2 separate regions of the Homo sapiens genome follow, and region 1 is linked to region 2. Evidence: promoter capture Hi-C in human tissues and cell types (Jung and others, 2019). All regions are on one chromosome and are shown on one strand. Each heading gives the region's core, a stretch centred on a gene start or on the middle of the fragment in contact. The rest is flanking DNA. Distances are from core to core; before and after follow the strand shown.

What was found. Contacts are between HindIII fragments. The study calls those that stand out against the background at their distance.
Region 1: a fragment that was not itself captured here is called in contact with the fragment with the promoter of ARHGAP11A in region 2 in 1 of the 25 tissues and cell types used here (hippocampus).

What each region holds. Positions count from the first base shown.
Region 1 is chr15:32,647,092-32,654,049 of GRCh38, reverse strand. The region is part of intron 10 of ARHGAP11A-SCG5 (ARHGAP11A-SCG5 readthrough); the gene reads right to left. All of the region lies in intron 2 of SCG5 (secretogranin V), which reads right to left. Among named protein-coding and RNA genes, the nearest start is that of SCG5, 8.9 kb to the right of the region's middle. The HindIII fragment of the contact is 6,064 bases long and covers 104-6,167 here.
Region 2 is chr15:32,610,660-32,617,157 of GRCh38, reverse strand. It overlaps ARHGAP11A (Rho GTPase activating protein 11A), which reads right to left and starts at 1,654. Exons shown (of 12, transcript NM_014783.6): 1 at 818-1,654. The coding sequence starts at 946. ARHGAP11A-SCG5 (ARHGAP11A-SCG5 readthrough) reads right to left here and starts at 1,682. Exons shown (of 14, transcript NM_001368319.1): 1 at 818-1,682. The coding sequence starts at 946. ARHGAP11A-DT (ARHGAP11A divergent transcript) reads left to right here and starts at 2,412. Exons shown (of 3, transcript NR_135833.1): 1 at 2,412-2,721. The HindIII fragment of the contact is 9,261 bases long and covers 1-3,854 here.

The DNA.
Region 1 (6,958 bases), core at 1,886-4,385, 35 kb before region 2:
ATTGTGAGGGTAAGCATGACACTGTGCATGAAGACAATTTGAGACCCAGACTCTGTTAGAGAGATTCAAAAGCAAAATACCATATTTATGTGGATTATAATAATTTTCCTTAGGAAATGGAGGCTTGATGACAGCTGTGTTAATTTTATTCCCCAACACCCTATTAATTTCATGTGTCAGACTGCCTAAGTTATAGTACCCAGTTGTGTGATCATAAGCCAACACTAGATTTTTCTGTGAAGGTATTAAAGTGAGTAATATTTAAATCAGTGAACTTTAAGAAAAGCAGATTACTCTCTATAATACGGGTGGACTTCATCTAATCACTGAAGACGTTAAGAGAAAAGACTGAGGTCCTCTGAAAAGGAAATAATTCGGCCTCTGGACTGTCTTCAGACTCAAAATTATCAACTCTTGCCCAAGTCTCCAGTCTGTCTTACAAATTTTCAACTTGCCAGCCCCCACGTTTATATGAGCCAACTCTTTAAAATAACTGTCTGTCTCTCTATACATTCTATTGGTTCTGTTTGTCTGTTTCTCTAGAGAACCCAGGATTTACATCTGGTTCTAGTGACTTCCATGAAAATACACTGGGGCTCAGACTTACCCAGGCTCCAACCCATATAGAAGTGAATATTTCACAAGGATTATTCTACAGTCAGACAACTGGCAGAGCAATTAGTAGTTGCCATACAGCAAACTTAATTTCAGGAGTTGTTATCTAGTTTTCTGTGTCCCTCTTTGACATTCTAAGATAGTCACATGTTATTTAAGGAATGGACTAAAGATCTCACTCGTGATTGAAAATTCACAAAATTCAAGAACAATCCTAATTGAGGATGATGACAGATTCTACCGATCACTGTTTAGAATTACTAAGCCTACTACTTTGAAATTGTGATTCTTGACAAATTGTTATTTGGGGAAGATTCACATTATTTCACATTTTGTGCATGCAATAAGGCTGTGCTAATTTTTTACATTGTACTGTTCCAAAGACACATGAAGTGTTCACATAAAATTCCCCAACACCCTATTAAGATTATTTTCTATTTTTGTTCTAGGTTTATGCTTCACTAAAACATTTATTACTATTAAACAAGATATAAAATAGACAAAGATGACACTTTAGATCTTTTGATCTACAAGACATCTAGGAGTTATAAAAAGTAAATATTAAAAGTTTATACTATAACTAGTAAATAACTAATAGTTATAGTTGTAAAAGTTAAAAATAGTGCTGTCCAAAATTTTAAAACATCAAAAGACATATCAGTGAGGTGTATAAATGTATAAGCTGGCAAAGAAAAGAGATTTGGGAGACTGCATTTCATTCTTGTATTCTTATTTTAATTGAGAAGGTGGCTAGAATTAGTACAGTGCTTGCAAACACCTGAGGCCAAAACCTCCAAAGCTCTGTATCCCAGCACACCTTTGCCACTTTCCTTTTTCCCCAATGGAGGAAGGAAAGACCTAAGACACAGGCCAACACCTGTGCTCCAGTCCTCATCCTCTCCCACCTCCTCAGTTGCTGCTCCCCATCCCACATCTTCAACTCTCCCTCTCTGCTGGTTCTTAGCAATTAGCACTTCAGCAAGTTCAATTTCTCACATCCTAAAACAACCTTAACAGAAACCGTCCTCAGCTCTAAATCATTCACCCTTCCCCCAATCCTTCCACAGCTATTACTCATCTCCCCTTTACCTGACATTCTGGGAACACATTTATACGTTGCATTTCTTCCTTGTTTATCCCCTCAATGCCCTGCAGGTATGGTGGGCCCCCACTACTCCCCAGAGCCGGCTCTGCCCAAAGCCCCCACAAAGCAGTAACTTCTGTGTTGCTACCCCCAGTGAACACTTGACACCCAGTGGTTTTTACTATTTCATGTGACCTCTCTGCTGATCCTGACAGTGGTAACCACTGCCCCTTCTCAGAACACTATTTCCTTGTTTTCATTACACTCTATCTTTCTGGTTCTTCTCCTTTCTGGCCGATTTATCCCAGTTTCCTTTGTGGATTCTTCTTCATCTACCTGGCCTTTGTCTTAGGTGCCCTGTTGTTCTCAATACCCACCCAGGGTGACCCCATCCACCCCTACAGTATCAGCCACCACTAACACGGGGATGACTCTGAAACCCTTCCTTCTCCCAGACTTCTCTCCTGTGCCATATACATCTAAGTGCCTTCTGGATACCCAGGACACTGTAAACATACACAAACATGTCATCGTGTTCATCTTTCCTATCCTTTTCCCCTCCCAAAAAGAACCTCCCCGTTTCTTTTGAATTTCTCATTACTATCCATGCAATTGCTCAACAGAGAAAAACTGAAAATCATCCAGAGACTTTAAGGATTGAAGTTCAAGGTGGACAAAATGCAACCCCAAAGGCATGGGCCCATTGGGCGGTCCCAGTCCATTCATAGATGGCCTACAAGCCCAATGTTCTCATTGGTTCCTCCAGGGTGAGGATAACCTAGAAACAGATTTTAGTCAAGACACATAAGAGTCAGCTGCACTGCTTTCTCCAACTGCAGAGAGAGACTAGCCAGAAACGGAGTGTCCCCTACAGTTCAAGGTTTGCTTCACCCCGCCATCCTCAAATGGGAAGCAACTGTTGCCACCCTGTGGCAAAGCGGAGGCACTGCAGCTCCTTTACCAAGGCCAAAGCTTGGCAGAGTAGAGGCTCCTAGGATCTGCCTCTTCAAGTAGCCTATCATCCACAGGACTCTTTCTCCACTTGATATTTATTAAGAAAATAACCTTGGGTCTCTATTTCTAAGTGAAAAATTTGAAGTCCAACAGTCAGTGTTATAAAAAAGAACGTATTTTATTTTATTTTATTTTTCTGAGACAGAGTTTCGCTCTTGTTGCCCACGCTGGAGTGCAATGGGCGATCTTGGCTCACTGCAATCTCTGCCTTTAGGGTTCAAGCGATTCTCCTGCCTCAGCCTCCCGAGTAGCTGGGATTACAGGCACGTGCCACCATGCCCAGCTAATTTTTTGTATTTTTAGTAGAAACGGGGTTTCACCATGTTAGCCAGGCTGGTCTCGAACTTCTGACCTCAGGTGATCCGCCCGCCTCGGCCTCCCAAAGTGCTGGGATTACAGGCGTGAGCCATCGCGCCCGGCAGAACGTGGGTATTTTAATGTTTGGCAATATGGATTTAAAATTACTCAGAGCCATCAAATGCTAATGTTTATACATTTCTATCTTAATGGCTAGATAACTGGTGTTATCACAGTGCTAGATAGCTGGTGGCCTAGAACTGTGGGGAAAATGAACAGCTGGCACTGAGCAGCCTATCTTTTACCTGAAGCTGTTAATGTTCTGAAAACGAAAGCACATTTTCTGGTTGGATTCATCCAAGGCCATCCAAGGCCATCATCAGTGTCAGCTGGCACAACCAGTTCTAACTCCCAAGAGCTCCCATCTCACAGCACATGGTTCTCCGAATCAGTCCCCTGGACAGTTGGTGGCTTTATTTGTTTCTGGGGATAATACAACAGTAGCCATTTAGCTATGTCTTGGAGACCAGTGAGCAACCGTGGGCTTGGGAGAAGATGGTTACTGCTGAAATATATGGTGCACTGAAGCATATCTGAACTGTATTGCTAACTGATGAGTAATCAAAAATAAGACTGGGGCGCCGGGCGTGGTGGCTCACGCCTGTAATCCCAGCACTTTGGGAGGCCGAGATGGGCGGATCACGAGGTCAGGAGATCGAGACCATCCTGGCTAACATGGTGAAACCCCGTCTCTACTAAAAATACGAAAAAAAAATTAGCCAGGTGTGGTGGCGGGCACCTGTAGTCCCAGCTACTCGCGAGGCTGAGGCAGGAGAATGGCATGAACCTGGGAGGGCAGAGCTTGCAGTGAGCTGAGATCCCGCCACTGCACTCCAGCCTGGGCGAAAGAGCAAGACTCCGTCTCAAAAAATAAATAAATAAATAAGATTGGGGTAAGCCATTAAAGACTGAAAACATGTTGTTGATAATCCACAAAGTGAGAGGAGGAAGGCCTGCAATTCAGTTACTAATGGCACCCACTGATTGCATGTAAGAGTGGGCTGGAAACCCCATTTTATTTTATTTTTATTTTTCAAACACCAACTCGAACCAGACAAGCCCATTTTATTTGGGCCGATTTTATTTGAGAGAACTAGGCTTAGAAAGTTGCCAGGATTACACATAGCTAGAAAATAGTACGGCTACGGGTTAACCCGAGTTCTCTGCCATAAACATACACACTCTTTTTTTTCATGTAATGCCAAGTAGGTCCCTGTTTGTCTTTGTGTTTTTATTTGCTTTGGACTAAGAATTTACACATTTGAAAGATGCTCCTTACCAAGCTGTTTTTAAGGCGCCCACGGAGAAGTTAAACATAACCCCCAATCCTCTCTGGATGTTTTGGCAAATGCTTCTACCCCAGCGACCACTTAAAGCTATTAACGACCAGGAGGCTGGCTACCAGGGTTCAGGAATCTTCCAAAATAAACTTCTAGTCTAGTTGGCCCTCTGCTGGTTTAGTCCCAGGACTGCAAAAAGTCCTTCTAGCTCCTTGGTAGGCGCTGTACAAAGGGCACAAACCTTGCACCATGGTGATCACAGTCATAGTCAATTCTAGATAACAGACATTTTTGCTCACCACATTATCACTAAGCTCATGGCAAGAACCTCTAGGCAGAGATTTTTAAAAACAGAATAGAAATGGAATATTTTCCTTGAACTAAAAGGCAGAAAGTCTTGACAGATCCAGATGTAAAACAGTATTTACATACTTATTGCCATTAGGTATATTTATTTCCCCCTGATATTATACATTAATTCCTCAAATATTTACTGAATGCTTACTATGTGCCTGGAATATAATGCAGTTAATAAGCAGATATAGCCTCATGGAGCTTACATTCCAGTGGAGAGATAAACAATAAGCAAGAAAACAAACAATGATTATAAATGACAAAAAATGCTATGGAGCTTTAAAAAAAAAGGCTGGACATGGCGGCTCACGCCTGTAATCCCAGCACTTTGGGAGGCCAAGGCGGGAGGATCACGAGGTCAGGAGGCTAACACGGTGAAACCCCGTCTCTACTAAAAACACAAAAAATTAGCCGGGCGTGGTGGCGGGCGCCTGTAGTCCCAGCTACTGGGGAGGCTGAGGCAGGAGAATGGCGAGAACCCGGGAGGCGGAGCTTGCAGTGAGCCGAGATCGCACCATTGCACTCCAGCCTGGGGGACAGAGTGAGACTCTGTTTTTTTTTTAAAAAAAAAAAAGGAGACTGCAACAGAGAATGTAGGGGGGTGCTACTCAGACAGGGCAGTCAGGCAGCCCTCTCTGAGTGGGTGACTTTGAAACTCGCTACACAAGGAATGGGAGGTTGATAGCCTCCCATTGTTGATCCCATCCAATGTGTTGATAGCCTTGAGGTGGGAAGAGGCCGGTGTGACTCAGGGCCAGAATGCGTGGAACAAAGTAGGGAGTACGATTGACTGGAGCTGTGGATCCTCGTAGGTCATGGCAAGAAGGGTTATTTTTATTCAGGGTACGATGGGAAGCCACCAATGGAATTGTAACTACGGAGATGACACTAATATGGTTTAAACTTTTCAAGTTTAACTCCTGAAAAAAGTTTAACTCCTGTTCTTCCTGTGAAGAACAATCGAAAAGGGATCAAGAATAGAAGCAGGAAGATGAGTTAGGAGGCGATTTCAAAACTCCATGCCAGACATGATGGTATCTTGGACCAGGGTGTTTGGAGTAGAGCTAGAGAGAAGCAGACAGGAAATTGCACATGGATTTTAGAGATAAAAATGAAATAAATTACTTAAAATTGAGGCATGAAGTGTGATGGAGAAAATCAAGGGTTACTGTAGGTATTTAGTTTGCATATATGGCTAAGCAGGGGCACTACTCATTTAGACAGAAAAGACTGATATAAACAGGCTGGGGAAGGTGGTGGTTTGAGAAATCAGGATCGAAACCTGGCAATTTAGCAATTAGTGTAAGCCTATGGATATGCAAGAAAGAAATGTGGGCTGAAATACAAACACCGGAGTCACCAGCCAAGAAATGGATTGAGAGTCAAGAGAATGAATGAGATCAAGTAGATAGAGAATTGAGGGAAATAAGAGAAGTGGACCCAGCACTGAGCCCTGGAGAACTTAACTTTTAAAGGCCGCCAGAGAAACCTGTAAACGAAACTAACAAATGGGTAAAGAAAAAAAGGAAAAAAGGAAAGCCCAATACTTATTTGTTTATTTAAGGACTACATTTCCTCGCCCTGCTACTTTGCTGTTCACGTTTATTTCCTCAGTACCTAAAACAGTGCCTGGCACTCAATAAATACTAGTAGGTTTAATGAATGAGCGGTGAGAACAGTGGGCTACAATGGACCAGGAGAGAATGAGAGGTGAAGAAGTACAATTGGCATGTGAGGAAAGGCTGTGAAAGGCAGCTGTGAAAGGTTGCTGTGAAAGGCAGCAGAAAATTGGAACAGTAACTAGAAGGGATATGGAATCAAAGAAGATATGTTTTTTTTAATGGGATATATGATACCTCACTGACCTAACATTAATTTATACTGATACTATATTCCTATACTAAAAGGCCAATTTATAATTCTATATTTGAGAGCAAATATACACATTTGTTAAGATCCATTGATCATACAATTAATTTATTTAAGTAGACAAGATAGATATTTGTCTTCTATGTACCATGTGTTGGGCAGTGAACAACTCTGCCTGCAAGGAACTTAACATCCAGTAATTATCTAAAGTGATGATGATGATGATTTGTTTAGAAATTATTTCATCGTAGCACAGTTATCCATGCTAAAACTTTATTTTTGCTTCTGTGGACTGGAACATTACCTGCTTACAAGTAAGTGAATTTAAATCCTACCCCTAAGCTAAACAGAAGGTTATAGGAGTTAAGTAACTTGCCCAAGGTCA
Region 2 (6,498 bases), core at 405-2,904:
GGAAGTACCATATAAATTAGGCACATAAATTTAAAATAAAATGCTTTACATTCAGCTTATTTTTCACAATGGAATTCCTGATTATGTGGCAGAGCTATTAAAATCTCATTCAAAATCCCTTTATTTCAACCACCAAAACATCAACAACTTCTCAATTATTCCACTCTGGCTTCTCAATTTACTCATACAAAAAAAAATTTACTGTCCCAAAAGTATGACATGGCCAAGCAGCAAATCTGTTTCCCAAATTAGTGAATATGCAGTCATCATTTGAAGCCTATTTCTAATGTTCTGTCATACTTCTTCATCTACAGATTCATGTAGAAAATGCACTGGTCTCCCTTGTCCCTCTACAACCTTACTCTAAAACAAGGGTGGAGGGGTAGAGTTTTTGTCCCTCCCAACGTACTACCTGTTCCAAATACAGTAAGCTGGCAATATCCGGAGACATTTTTAATTGTCACAACTGAGAGATGCTACCAGCATCTAGTGGGTAAAAGACAGACATCCCGCTAAACATCCCACAATTCACAGAACAGCATTTCGTCTTCCCCTAACAAAAATTATCTAATCCAAAATGTCAATAGTGCTGAAGTTGGAAAATCCTGCAACTTTCTCTCAATGATCAAAAATCCTTGGGGGAAAAAAAACAAGAATGTCACTTTTTAAATATCAGCAATCGACCATCTGAACTGAATTACACACCTAACCATTCTTTTTGATACACAGAGTGAACATTTTAGCACGATCTGGTAGTAAGTGATGATAAAGGGTGTGCCCTTTCTTTTAAACCTAAATCCCTTTTCACAGAACTTACCCCTATTTCCGTGGCTGCTGTTTCATGTCTCCTGCGATCGCACTGCCCACGGACACCCTTCACCTTAATACCATAGAAGGCCCGCAGATGCTGCAACAGGGCCAACCTCACCAGCCTCTGATCCCACATTCCGGATACGTCGATAACTCTCTGAGGCAGGATGCAGGTCCTGACCCTCGTTCGCCACCAAGTCTTCCAATTTCCAAACGCTCTCAAATTTGAACTCCGCTCGGCTGCTTTCCGGCCCCGTCTGGCACTTCTGCGGCCCCGACCCCCGGCCACTTCCACGGCTTTTCCTTGATCCTCACTCACATCCACTTACACAGACCCGCTTCTCTTAGCCCTTTGATCCAGCCACACCTCACTCTTCCTTCACTTACACCGACCTTCTTTCTGGTCACCCAATGCTTTCAGCTACTCACATAGACTTCTTTCTGATTCTTTCGGTTTCTCGTCTATTGCCAGATTCTCTCCACTTCTTGCTACTTCCAACGATCCCCCTTCCTCCAAACCTTACTGTCCCCGTCTGGTTCGCTCTGAAATGTGAAGAAAACCCTTCTCGCTCCTCCAGCCCCAGCAGGCTCAACTGGGCGCTCGCCCCCGCCCTAGCCTGGCCGCCGGACCAGCCGGCTGCTCAGGCAACTCTTCCAGTCCCGGTGCCCGCCCGGGCTGGTAGCCGCCGTCACCCCGTCTCACAGGCTGCTCGTTCCCTCCCCCATCAGCCTGCCTCTACCTCCCGGCCTGCACATCCCGGTGCGTTCACTGAAGCCAAGCCGTTAGCCTCATGCTTCCGCCCCCAGCTCCTCCGCAGACACCCAGAGCCACCACGGGGGGGTCACACCCGCAGTTTCAGCCCAGGCTCAAATGGCAGCGCGAAACAGCGCTCCACATCTGATTGGTCCACTCCTCTTTTCAAAATCAGGACCCCGGAGGGTGGCCGAGAGCTGCCTGTCTAGATAAGTGCGGGCGAAGGGGTGTAACGGGCAAACCCAGCAAACATGAAAAGCAGGATGAGTTTCACTTGTTCCTTCAAGGCCAGTTTTTGGGGCGGGGGAATACTGTTTAAAGGTTTTTAAATACACCTGACCTGCGCCTCAGACCATTCACAGTATTTGAGGAAATATAAAAGACAACTTATTCCCGTTCTTTTCCGAGCTTGGCTGTCGCTGAAGGCCCTCTTATGAAGAAACCGTTCTTACGGAAGCCCAGATGAGACAACTTGAGACAGGATTCAGAAACGCTGATTTTAGTAACCTTAACCCTCGGCCCTTGGTGGGAACTTCGGCTCTGTGGGAATTAGTCTTTGGGGGACTGATGGTCATGCTGAAATCTTATTGCGTAGGAAATTAAGTACAACAAAGAAGACCCGTCGTGAGAGGAGAGTGCGGAAGAAATGCGAAGTCTACGGGAGGTGGCAGCTGCAGAAGCTTGGTGTTGGATTTGGCGTTAGGAGACCGGGAGGAGCCCAGCTTCCGGTCCAGACGGTTATCTTGTTGACTTGCACGACTGCAAACGCCCTGAGCTGCTTTTGCAGTCTGAAACATCAGCGATCCCATCAAAATATTCTGTTTCTTGGGATATAAGAAACATCCCAAGGCGGGCTGTAGAGCGAGAGATTTGGACTCGATTTAAATACAGACAAAATAGTATGCATTTACTAACACCACATCTCACCCCCACGAAACTTGGTAAGGGCAGCAACAGAACTTTATCTGCCATATGCACTCCTGTATTCCTATTACCAAATAGTGCCAGGGACTAAGTGAATATTTGTCCAATGAATGAGTTTTAAGTAGGAAACGTTTGCATAGAATCATTTTGTTTCTTTTGGAGTTCAAATCTTCGGATATTTTACCCTTCCCAATCCAAAGAAAAGTCTCTGAGTGAAGAGATGGGAACAAAATGTAAGTTAAATATGTTGCTTTAACAACTGTTTATTGAACTCGTGCTATAGACTATAGAATGATGAGCAAAACCAGGCACAGTTTCGGCCCTGGAAGAGGAAAGGCAGGCATATATTTATCAAGTAAGTACATTAATGGCGGCACTTATCAGTTGAGAGAAGTGCGCTAAGGAAAGGAATATGATTCTATGATAGCGTATAATAAAAGATCCTTGACCGGGGAGGGGAAACGTACCAGTGATTAACTGATCTGAAGAATCAGTATAAATTGACTTTGTAGAAAGTATAGGTGGATGGCTGAGTGGGACCATCATTCAGGAAGCAAATGCCTGCAGAAAAAAACATCAATTTTAACAAGAAACGGTGTATCAGAGATGAAACTGAACCTATTCCTTGTCTTTTCTTCTTGCTTCAGACATAACTTTAAAAAATTGCTTACGCTGTCTTTAGCCACATCTCTTCCCCAAACTCCACACTGTTCGGCGTTTTAGCCGTCTCAAATTTCCTTTTCTTAAAGACCCATGACAATCTTCAGTGTTGTGTCTTTTTCTACGTCGTGATCCTTTTTTAAAGCTGAGCTCTTCTTGTTTTTCGTCTCCTTTCTCTTTTTTTTTTTTTTTTTTTGTGATGGAGTCTCGCTCTGTCGCCCAGGCTGGAGTGCAGTTGCACAATTTCGGCTCACTGCAAACTCCACCTCCCACGTTCAAGCAATTCTCTGCCTCAGCCTCCCAAGCAGCTGGGATTACAGGCGTCTGCCAGCAGGCCCGGCTAATTTTTGTATGTTTAGTAGAGACGGTGTTTCACCATTTTGGCCAGGCTGGTCCTGAACTCCTGACCTCGTGATCCACCCGCCTCGGCCTCCCAAAGTGCTGGGATTACAGGTGTGAGCCACCACATCCGGCCCTTCCTTTCTCTTAAGATGAAAATATTGGTTCTTTTTTCCTACACACAAGGAGGCAATGAAAATATTGGTTCTTTTCATTGCCTTATTATTAATGTTACTATTAATAAATATTAATATTAACATAATGGTTATTTGCTTCATCTACCTATATTCACAGGTATATAAACACAACAATAGCAATAACAGGATAAAGAATAAAAACAGAATAACAATAGAGATATTGCTAACAGATAAATGAAGTTTAACTTTGCATGTACTTCCTTTTTTCTAAAATTGTATCCAACTAAGGATGTAAAATCAAGATACTGTGTTTTAAATGAACTGGGCATAATTATTCTTTTTGGTTATATATGGATGTACTGTAGTTTATTTAGCCAGGCCCTTACTAGTGGATATGTTGGCTATTCCCAGTCTTTTGCTATACAAAAGTTTCCTTGTGCATATATAATATGCTTTTGCCAGTGGGTCTTTAGCATAGATTTCTATAAATGGGATTGTTAGGTCAAAGGGTAAAAGAACATGTTATTTTGTTTAATTCTGCCAAATTCCCCTTCATAGGGGTTGTGCAGTTTTGTATTCACACCAGCAGCATTTCCTGTTTCTCTGCAGCCTCTCCAATAGAATGAATTGTCAAACTCCTAGATGTTTGCTAAATCGATATGTGGGAAATGTTATCAAAGTGTAGTTTTTTTTTTTTTTTTTTTGAGACGGAGTCTCACTCTGTTGCCCAGGCTGGAGTTCAGTGGCTCTATCTTGGCTCACTGCAACTTCTGCCTCCCAGGTTCAAGCGATTCTCCTGCCTCAACCTCCTGAGTAGCTGGGACCACAGGCAATCACCACCACGCCTGGCTAATTTTTGTAATTTTAGTAGAGACAGGGTTTCGCCATGTTGGCCAGGCTGGTCTCGAACTTCTGACCTCAACCTATCCACTCACCTCGGCCTCGCAAAGTGCTGAGTTTACAGGCATGAGCGACTGCGCCCAGCCTCCAGTATAGTTTTGTATTTATCTTTTTGTCAATGAAGTGGAACATTTTTTCAAATGATGCATGCTTACGACAAAGTATTATGAAGCTGTTAAGGAATGTGGAAGATATATGACTATGATGTGAAGTGAAGTGAAAAAGCAAGGCATAAAAGAGTGTATATAGTATGCTGCCTTTGGTATACGGGGTGGTAGAGATACATATACAAATGGATACTTACTTATATTTTCAAAAATAAACAATAGAAAGGTAAACCAAAATCTAATAAAAATGGTAAACAATAGGAGAAGATCAAGAACAGGTGAAGTAGAAAATAGGAATGGAAGCTAGACCTCTCTGAATATATCTTGTTTTATATATAAACTTGGAACCCTGTAAATGTGTAACATGTTTAAAATACAAAATAAGGTGGTGGCTCACGCCTGTAATCCCAGCACATTGGGAGGCCGAGGTGAACGGATCACCTGAGGTCAGGAGTTCGAGACCAGCCTGGCCAACGTGGTGAAACCCCGTCTCTACTAAAAATACAAAGATTAGCCATGCGTGGTGATGCATGCCTGTAATCCCAGCTTCTCGGGAGGCTGAGACAGGAGAATCGCTTGAACCTGGGAGGCGGAGGTTGCAGTGAGCCAAGATCCGGCCACTGCACTTCAGCCTGGGTGACACAGTGAGACTCCATCTAAACAAAATAATAATAAATAAAATAAAATAAAATAAAATGTAAAAGCAACTCCTAAAATGGAAAACAAAGTGCAATAAATCAATCTTTTCACCTGTTTAAGGGCTATTTGTACTTCTTTTTATTTAAATTGTCCATCTTTTACTTTCAGGATGGTCTTTAAAAATATTTTAGAAGCTTTTTATATATTAGTCCCTCATGATATAAGCTACATATATTTTTTAGACTTTTTGCCTTGCTTTTTTGTTTGTTTAAATTATAGTTAATCTCTTCCCTTAATGCTTCTGGATTCTGATCATAGATAGGAGTATTTTCCCCACTTCTGAGTTATAAAGGTATTCACTCTTGTGAATTCTAGTACTTAATTTTCTAGTACTGCTATGTTTTCATTTGTTAATGTTAGATCTCTGAGGCTGGAGTGCAGTGATGCGACCTCTGCTCACTGCAACCTTCACCTCCCGGGTTCAGATGATTCTCCTGTCTCAGCCTCCTGAGTAGCTGAGACTACAGGTGCATGCCACCACACCTGGCTAATTTTTGTGTTTTTAGTAGAGACGAGGTTTCGCCATATTGGCCAGGCTGGTCTTGAACTCCTGACCTTAGGTGATCTGTCTGCCTCTGCCTCCCAAAGTGCTGGAATTACAGGCGTGAGGCACCGCGCCCGGTCCTTAAATTTGGAATTTATCCAGTGTAGAAAGAATGGATCCAATTTTATGTGTTACCCCACACAGCTATCCAGCTGTAGATATTGTAATTTTATTTCATTTAGTGAACTCCCACACCTACTTCTAAAAGTAGGAAAACACTACTGAAAACCTCACTGAGTTCCCTGACGATGAAAAGGGAAATCTTTCGTTAAGCATTAGGCTTTGCTTTTAGTGCCACTAGATGGCACACATCCTTTTCCTTAGATGTTAGTTCACCTAGCCCTCATTTCTGTGAAATCAGTCCATAAAGTGTCTGCCAAAGGGCCTTCCTGAACCTTTTACCTGCATCCCTGCTTGAAATAAGATGATTTGTGCAACTTTCAAATTAGGTCCGAGTTTTTTTCTGTAAAACCAAAATGATTGTTCCTAGAATCACTGCTTCTAGGGCCTGGCACATTCCACAGACACATTGTTCCATTTATTTATTTATTTATTTATTTATTTGAGACGGAGTCTCGCTCTGTCCCCCAGGCTGGAGTGCAGTGGTGTGATCTCGGCTCACTG